Linked DNA regions of Homo sapiens: region 2 is linked to region 1. Evidence: promoter capture Hi-C in 16 types of primary human blood cells and fetal thymus (Javierre and others, 2016). All regions are on one chromosome and are shown on one strand. The core of a region is centred on a gene start or on the middle of the fragment in contact, and the rest is flanking DNA. Distances in the headings are between cores, read along the strand shown.

Evidence for each region. Contacts are between HindIII fragments. The CHiCAGO score rates a contact against its expected background, and 5 or more counts as called.
Region 2: a contact is called between a fragment that was not itself captured here and the fragment with the promoter of AGTPBP1 in region 1, in 3 of 17 cell types (naive CD8 T cells, activated CD4 T cells and fetal thymus). The highest score is 6.4, in naive CD8 T cells.

The regions. Positions count from the first base shown.
Region 1 is chr9:85,739,467-85,745,906 of GRCh38, forward strand. AGTPBP1 (ATP/GTP binding carboxypeptidase 1) reads right to left here and starts at 2,488. Exons shown (of 26, transcript NM_001330701.2): 1 at 2,309-2,488. RefSeq lists an enhancer at 1,502-1,651 and silencers at 1,822-2,141, 2,212-2,811. The HindIII fragment of the contact is 1,776 bases long and covers 1,213-2,988 here.
Region 2 is chr9:87,971,108-87,973,807 of GRCh38, forward strand. CDK20 (cyclin dependent kinase 20) reads right to left here. Exons shown (of 8, transcript NM_001039803.3): 3 at 40-228. Among named protein-coding and RNA genes, the nearest start is that of CDK20, 2.1 kb to the right of the region's middle. The HindIII fragment of the contact is 4,347 bases long and covers 1-2,700 here.

The sequences.
Region 1 (6,440 bases), core at 1,238-3,737:
GGGAGGCCGAGGTGGGCAGACCACCTGAGGTCAGGAGTTCAAGACGAGCTTGGGTAACATGGTGAAACCCCGTCTCTACTAAAAACAAAAACTTAGCCGGGCGTGGTGGTGTGCTCCTGTAATCCCAGCTATTCGGGAGGCTGAGGCAGGAGAATCGCTTGAACCCGGGAGGCAGAGGCTGTAGTGAGCCAAGATCGTGCCACTGCACTCCAGCCTGGGCGACAAGAGCGAAACTCCGTCTCAAAAAAAAAAAAAAAAAAATTCAGGCCAAGCTTGGTGGCTCACGCCTGTAATCCCTGCACCTTAAGAAGCTGAGGCTAGTGGATCACCTGAGGTTGGGAGTTCGATACCAGCCTGGCCAACATGGTGAAACCCGTCTCTACTAAAAACACAAAAATTAGCTAGGCGTGGTGACGCGCGCCTATAATCAAGAAGCTGAGGCGGGAGAATCGCTTGAACCCGGTAGGGGCAGGTTGCAGTGAGCCGAGATCGCACCACTGGCACTCTAGCCTGGGCGAGAGAGTGAGACTCCGTCTCAAAAAAAAAAAAAAAGTAAAATACAAATTACAAAATTTCATAACTGTTGGACCTCTTTTCCTTCTGCTAATGGAAGTAAAACCATTATTATATAGCAGCCTAGCCAGACTTTTCTAAAGAGAAGAATGCCTCAATTCGGAAAAGCTTTATAAAAATTGCTTCTACAAAAGTTTAATTAATAGATTTAAATGCTTTGCAATGTTGGCCAAATACGAGGGTAGTTTTAAGCCTATCCACTTCATTTCCGAGTTCAGAGTGAGTCTGCAGTTGTAATTATGTGATTAATCAATTCAAGGCAGAGTTTTGTGATCATTAAAAATGAACCTGTAACTTCACCATAGAATTTAACTTAAGAGAAGTGGAATGGGAAAAAGAGCAAGTCATATTAGAACTCTGCCTGCATGATGAGAAACAGTGGGTAAGGCACGACTTATTATTTCGCAGTAATTCTACATAGGAAATACAGATCTTTCAGAGTTTTGTTTGGTTTTGACATTTGGCACATGTTTTAAAATAAGCACCATTTAAAGTTCCTTAAATAAATCATTTCTTTTTTGGCCTACTGAACTAAAAACATTCCACAATACAATTACAAAAATAACTTTCCGGTTTTCTCAGACAACCAGTTTATAAGAATAATTCAGAAGTTCACAAAGGATAATTTGATTTACATAAAGCTTAAAAAACGGACATAAAAGGTAAGTGAAAATGACCGATTAAGAAGACTGTTAAGGTCCTTTCTAACTACAAATTGTCATGCATTGTAATTAAACACAACTACAATGTTAAACACCTGAAGGAAAAAACCCACATAGAATTAATACTGCCAAAGAAAATTTCCGCTATCTTCAGGCACTTGAGTAAGCTATGTTAAAACGGGAAATGGGCTTTAAATTATCAACATTCACATCGATTACACTATGATGCATGAAAACTCCATTCTACAATGAGTAAACGCCCAAGAAAGGAACCCAACCAACTCCAATTGCCCTGGTGCTCGTAAGAGGTTTATACCGCACAAGGGGTAAAACAACGGTAGAGTCGAGCAAGCCTTTGGGTTACAACAGTCCTTGAACACTTGCAATTGAGAACCCGCAATTCAGGAAGGAAGACACTAAGGAAACTCTGCACTGTCATCCAGGGTGATCTGATTCAGGTTCAAACCAAACGCTCAAGGCGACAAGTTGTAAACAGAAGACACACTTCAGCTCAAACCACCCAGCGAGAGGAAGCAAACGTGCCCATCGCCGATGTCACAGCAAATCCCACCTTGCTGGCGCTCAGTCGGGAACGCTAGAATTCTCGAAGCACAGGGGCCCGCGATTCAGCGGCCCGCTACCACTGGGGCGGGGGAGAGCGGGGCTGGGCGCGCCCGCCCCCGGCCCTGCAGCCCCTCGGCTGGACTCCCCGCGGCGCCGCGAGCTCGGGCCCGAGAGAAAGGGCTGAGCAGAAAGGGCGGCCTCCGCCCAGAGACCGCGCCCGATACCCTCCGCAAGGTCTGGGACGGGGATCCACCGAGGGTCCGGGGACTGGGGAAGGCGTTTTCCAGACCCAGTCAAAGCCCCACCCCGTCAGGGCTTTCCCTCAAGACCGAGTGCGTTCCCCTCACGCGTCACATGTGTAACATGCGTTACACAACCCGTCAGGTAAGGGGCGCAGGGATCCGGGGTCGCCCCTCCTACCCCCGGGCGCCGTCGCTCGCATCTCCCGCGGCCCGGGGAGAGCAGAGGGACGGCCGGCCGGGACATGAGGACTGCAGCAGGGCGCTCACCGGCTCAGGATGGGGCGCTGGCGGGGACCGCGCAGAGCCGCAGCACCCGGCTCAGCACCTGGATCACGGCGGATCCCTCGCCGCCCGCCGCCCGGTGTTTTCATACAAACCCCGGTGGCAGGCGAGGCGGAGGCGGCGGCGGCGGCAGCTGCGGCGGCGGCGCTGGAGGCGGCGGAACCTGTCCGCATCCCGGGCAACGTCAGCGCGGCGCCCCGCCCACCGCACGCCTTGCCAGCCGGCTCCCAGCACGCGCAGGGAGTGGGGGCGGGGCGTGCGAGGCCGCGAAAGGGGCGGGGCGGAGCGCACGCCCTCTTCCCGCCGCGTCCCTTGTTACCTCCGTGCGCGCTGCGCCCCGCCTCTCTGCGCGCCTGACGGGAGGGAGCGCGCGCGTGGGGGCGGAGCGCGCACGGGAGCGGGAATTAGGGGCGGGTGTTCCGCGCGCTGCCGGTCCCTTGTACCCAGCAGCCCCGGCCACCGCCCCTCCGTACCGAACTGCGAGCGACTCCCCACGTTCTTCAAGTCATCTTTCTGTACACTCCCAACGAGGGCCCCAGCCTTTTCCCGGAACTAAGCCCGCGCCCACCCCCTCCCCCGCCATCAATCAGTCACTTTCTTAGGAAGGGTTCTTAAAGCTCCCCACGTGATCCCGGGGTCGCATCAAACGCTGGGGACTGCGGTAAAGCTTAGACCTTTCCTGACCTCAAGGAGGGTCCATAATAAGAGGCTGGAAGGGACATGCTGTTACTACAATCGGGCTCCCAGAAAACAACAGGATTGCACCTTGTGGCCAAATCTCAGTAAATTAGATGCCTAGTGCTGCAGCGAACAAAATAGCATGCTGATTTACTGTTTTTTGAAAAAGTGCCTGCATATAATCAAAACGGTAATGCTAAGTTGGCTACTGAAGGCAAAGGCGGAATGTTTTATCTGAGCCAAAGTAATGTGTCAGAGAAATTACTAATACACCCCCTTCTGTTTTGACTGTACTTCAGTGTACTGCAATGTATTGCAAATAAATACTGACATCATTTACTTTTTCACGTTGCACAAGAACATGTTTGCTACTGTTTATGGTAAGGAATGTAATATCACAACTAGATAAGGGAATGCATTGAGAACTGTGAGATTTTTGTTTTGTTTTATGATCTTGTTCAAATAAAATTAAGCAGGTGTGAAAGCAATTCAAAAAGTAACCCAAGGTACACCACAGTGCTTCTTACAGTTTGCCCTTGGTAGATGTCTTTATTCAGATGAACAAGAAACTGCCATTTTATAAACATCGTAGTTTCCCTCATCGTGAGCACTAAAAGATAGGTTACGGTATTTAAAATAATTTTGAAACAACCACCACCCCAAACCACCCAATCAGAAACGTATTATCTGAAAATACCCAATAATAATGTAATAATTTTACAATAATGCTAAATATGTATGTAATATACCTGAAACTTTTCTTAAAGAACATGTTTCTAAATGAGTCAACCTGCAATATAGGAAGATATTATGTGGATGTGTGTGTTTGTGGAATTTGAATCCCACTTTCACAAGCACTGTTAGCATAGTTTGATGACCACAACACAGACCCAGGAGATTAACCCACACAAGATAAATAGCAGCATTACATAGCTTTGAAATGATTCCAATCACATAGTTTGCCACAAGAGTGAGTGATTTATGTTTTGCGGTAATTAAGAACTTAGAGCTACTCCCCCACCCCCTGGGAATGTGACATCACTCTTCATCAGATCCCACGTGTATGAAGTTGAAATAAACTTCACCTCTCCTAGCTAATGTGACGTTACACCTTATCAAACACCATATATATGTTACTGACCTCAACTACAGGATTTCGAAATACATATAAACTCAAGAATTTGCAAGATACTTTGAGAGCTCAGCGGGTGGCAGATCGCGTGCTCTGTCAGCCACTTCCCTGAACGCTACCAGCTCAGGCTGCAACAGGGCCACACCCTGTTAGCCTTTAAGCTTTGAAGCCTGTCCACCAACACTGGCACAGCCCTCTAGCATCGTGGGACCTTGCATATCCTCACCGATCTCCTGTATGTTGGACACCATCTCTCCCGAGAACCTCAGCCTCCAAAAGGTAAAGGTACACCTCAGTTGTTTTTCTTTTTCTTTTTCTTTTTCTTTCTTTTTTTTTTTTTTTTGAGACAAGACTCTCACTCTGTTGCCAAGGCTGTAATACAGTAGTGCAATCATGGCTCACTGCAGCCTTGACCTCCCAGGCTTAATGAATCGTACTACCTCAGCCTCCCACTGAGTATCTGGGACTACAGGCACACGTCACCACACCTGGCTAATTTTTTTAATTGTTTTTGTAGAGTCGGGGTCTCCCTAAGTCACCCAGGCTGGTCTCAAACTCCTGGGCTCAGCAGTCCTCCTGCCTTAGCCTCCCAAAATGCTGAGATTACAGGCATTAATACCACACCCACCTCAATCCTTAATCAGACTTTACTTTCCACAGAGGTCTGCTTCAATCTTAATTGAACAACTAGGTTTTAATAGTTTTGGAACTCACTCACTATGTAGTTAATAAACATCATCTATGGAGTGTATTCCCTGTGAAATTATTCTCTTAATTCTCTGCCTCTATACATTGTGAACCTAAGAAAATAAATTATCTTCACATGGCAATAAACCATGTTGATCCAGGATTGTTTCCTCCTTAGCTCAGCTAGATCCAGGTTCTTGTCTCAAGACCAGGAAAAATCAGGTACACGGACACTTGAAGAGTGAGTGAAGTAGAATTTGTTAAGCAAAAGGAAAGCTCTCAGCAAAGAGAAGGATCCTGAAAGCAGGTTCCCAGTTGCCCGCTTCACAGTTGAATGCAGGGGCTTTTACATGCAAGCTGATGGGGCCAGGTTCCCTATTTGTGTAAGGCGCAAATTCCTGGTGGCTCCACCCCATTCCCCCAGTGTGCACGCGGGCCCTTAGTCCACTGTAGGCATGTTTAGGCAAGACCCCTGTGTAAGTTCCCTTATCTGTACGAAACATGGGTGGGAGCTTCTCTGGGGACCCTTTGCTTACTATCTGCCTAAAGCAAGCTGGCTGACGCCTTTCAATGTGATTCATGAAATCATACTTTTATCTCTCTACTTTGAACCATACAAAACACAGAGCTAATTTCTATTGGTCACTCTTTCCACAGCTTCTTCAATAAACCTTATTATGATATATAAAACTAAATGTGAATGGCTGATATAGATCAGAGTTGGACTATATAATGGAATTCATTTAACTTGGATTCCTCTATTCAGTCCAGCCTTGTAGGTACTCAGTAAATGTTTTCCTGTTTCATTTTTGGACTAGTCATGGGGAGAGAGAGGTGAACATTGGAGCCCAGCTATCTCTTTCTCCTCTTCTGCGGATCACCTTATCTCCATGCTTTTAATAAGGTAACGTACAAAATGCAACACACTGTATTACAAAACTCTATAGTCATAAGGCTTAGAACAGCCATGGACCTCTCAAAAAGTCTACAGCAATTTCCATCTAGAACATAAATGTTAGGAGAGCATGATTGATCATGAGGTTTCTGAAACATAGCTGGTCCTCTGGAGTTAGAGGATTGATTGTTATAACTATTCAACAATCAACCATTTATTGAGCACCTCTTATGTACCAGACAGTCCTCTTGAGATCTTCTGAGGAATTAAGCAAATGATAATGCTCAACAAAATACCTAACCACTGCCTTGTGTCAAACTAAAAGGTTTACCACAAATAGACCACAGAACAGAATGTAGTACAAACGACCAGAGCTGAATCTAAATGAATGCGGCAAAACTGGGAAATGGAGGGAAGCAATCTGGGATTTCACACATTGAATGGTTCTGATGCAAAATCTTTTACAGTGGCAAATGGTTTCCATGGTAAACTGTGAATGATATATAATTCGGGGTCAGAAAAATTGAACTTAAAGGCCAGGTGTGGTGGCTCATGCCTGTAATCCCAGCATTTTGGGAGGCCAAAGCAGGAGGATCAATTGGTGATATAGGAGTTAAGAAGAAATCACTTAGGCAGACAGTGAGAGTATGGCAGCCTTTGGTAAGGCTTTTCTCTTTAATGAAAAGCAGCCCCAAATCATTTTCTAACAAAGAGCAGCCTGTAAG
Region 2 (2,700 bases), core at 152-2,651, 2.2 Mb after region 1:
GCTCCCCAGACCCCATGCCCGGCCTATGCTGAGACTGACCCGATGTACAATGTTGTTGGCATGGCAGAAGGCGACACCCTTGAGCAGCATCTGCAGGTAGCTCTTGACCTGTGCCTGGGCTAGTGGCCTCTGGGCATGGCGCACCACCTCGGCCAGATCCGACAGCATGAACTCAAAGGCCAGCACAAAGCCTCCACCGTGTGGGAACACAGCCTTCAGTTGTACCACCTGTGGGCAGGACATCTTGTTAGCCCCCAGACTCAAGTCACCAGACCCTCTCTGTGACCCTGAGACCCCAGCCCATGCCCTGACAGAGGACCCTGTATCCAAAAAGACAGTAAGCAAAGAAGGTGACGTGGACCTGAGCTAAGAATCAGAGAGCTCGATGCTCATGATTTGCTCTGCTCTCCTGAGATAAGGTGTGCCCCCACTCTAATTCTCCATGAACACTAAAAGGTCTAAAAAAGGTCATTTAGTGGCACCATCTGGTCCGCCCACCCAGCCTACCCGCCTGAAAATCATCTGGATGGTCACACATGAGATGGACAGGTCTCCTCCTGTTTCCTCTAGAACCACCGAATCCCAGCACCAAGGAAAGGACACCAGGAATCCCACCTTTCCCAGTGCTGGGACAGCTACAGACACATCACAAACACTGAGGCCAGTACTGTCAGAGGAGCCAGGCTACACAGAGAGTGAGCTGAGAGACAGGACTCTTAATGAACTCACAGCACAAAGGACAAACAGTTTAACAAATAAATGAATAAAAGGGATATATTCAGATTCTGTAAGTACAGGAACCAAAATACAAGGGGGCTGGGCATGACGTCTCATGCCCGTAATCCCAGTACTTTGAGAGGCCAAGGTGGGCGGATGGCTTGAACCCAGGTGTTTGAGACCAGCCTGGGCAACATGGTGAAACCTTGTCTCTACAAAAAATACAAAAAACTAGCCAGGCATGGTGACACGTGCCTGTAGTCCTAGCTACTTGGGAAGCTGAGGTGGGAGGATCACCTGAGCCCAGGAGGTTGAGACTACAGGGAGACAAAATCGCACTTCTACACTCCAGCCTGGGTGACAGAGTGAGACCCTGTATCAAAAAAAGAAAAAAAATCAACAGAACTAGAAGAGGATAGTGTGATTCTGTGAGTGGAGAAAAGGATACTTCTTTATTTAGGTGGGGTGGGGCTAGATGAGGACCCAGTTTGTGGGGATCTGGGATAAAGCTCTGAGCAGGAAGAAAAGCAAGTGCAAGGCCCTAACGCCAGCACAGAAGGAGGCTAGAGGGATGTGAGTACATGAGATTGTTTAAGGGAAGGATGTGTCTGCCTTGTTCTGTGCTCCTGGACCCTAGATAGGTGCTGGTCACTGGAGAGATGCCTAAGAAGTTGTGTTGAATGAGAGAAAAGGGAGAGGCCAGCTGGAGGTGGGCACATGGTGATAGTGCTCTAAGTGTGAAGAGAAGCCACCAGGGCTTTTTACGCAGGGGAGCCGATGACTTAACTTACACTTTTGACAAAGCCCTCCGGACTGTGGCTATGGAGAGCAGTGGGGAGGCTGCCACTGTCATTCTGATGAGTGGTGATGATGACTTGGGCAAGGAGCAAATCTAGAGTATGTTTTAAAGTTAGAACCTTCAGAATTGCTGACCAACTGGATGTAGGGACCATATCACCAGCTTCCTTATGGATCTCTCCACCTATCCCACACATGGCTGTCTGGAAGCCCTTTTATCTTCCTCAAAAAATCAAAATGGCCTGATTGCTGTTTTCGGATTTTTCAGGTAGTACACAACCATTTAACAGATCAAAACACATGCACACATTCAGGTAAGACATAAAATCCAACAGAAAAAGAACAAAAGAAAAATCCTACAGTCAATCTTAGAGTGTATTCTACCAGACTTTACAACAGATATGGCACACACAAATACACATTCACATATATAATATTTCCAAACAAAACCCAGATGACACAAAATTTTATAACATGCTTTTGTCATCCAATATATCATGCATATCTCCAGATCACAGAGACCCAACCCTGTTAACTCTCCAGGGAGTCAAATACATTCCCTATTTCGACATGGGTGAGAGAGAGCACCAAAAGAGTAATGACACTAGGGGTGAAAGATGCCCCTCTTCGTGTTCCAGCAGCCCCTCCCGGTACCCTATCACAGCACGAACCACACTAGGTGGGCCCTGTTGCCTCTGTCTCTTGTTAGCACACTTAAGTCCTCAGGAGCTGGGCTGGAGCTGGTTTCTCTGTGTCACCAGTGCCCAACACAGGGTAGAGCCTATGGGAGGTCCCAAGGGAAGAATGGACTCTCAATCAAACCTGGGCCAAACCCTCTACTGACTAACGGAGGGCCCAAGAGCTGGTGACATAACCTCCTCCTCTCACCTGAGAAACAGAGATCTGGAAACCTGCCTTGTACAGTAGTAAAGAGGTCTCAAAATGACAATGTATATAATGCCTGCAGAACACATCGGGAGCTCAATAGGTGCTAGTTACATTATAAATCACTACATGTTTTGAGAAAAAAAGTCGGTGAATGAATGAATACATTAAGAAATAAGTAGGCAAATGAGAGTGAATGTGTGAGAAATGAAAGAAATAGGTAAATAAAGGTGAACAAGTGGACAAAAAAGGGCAAAAGGGGGTAAGGAGGCAGATGAATGAGCAGTGTGTGTGAGTGAC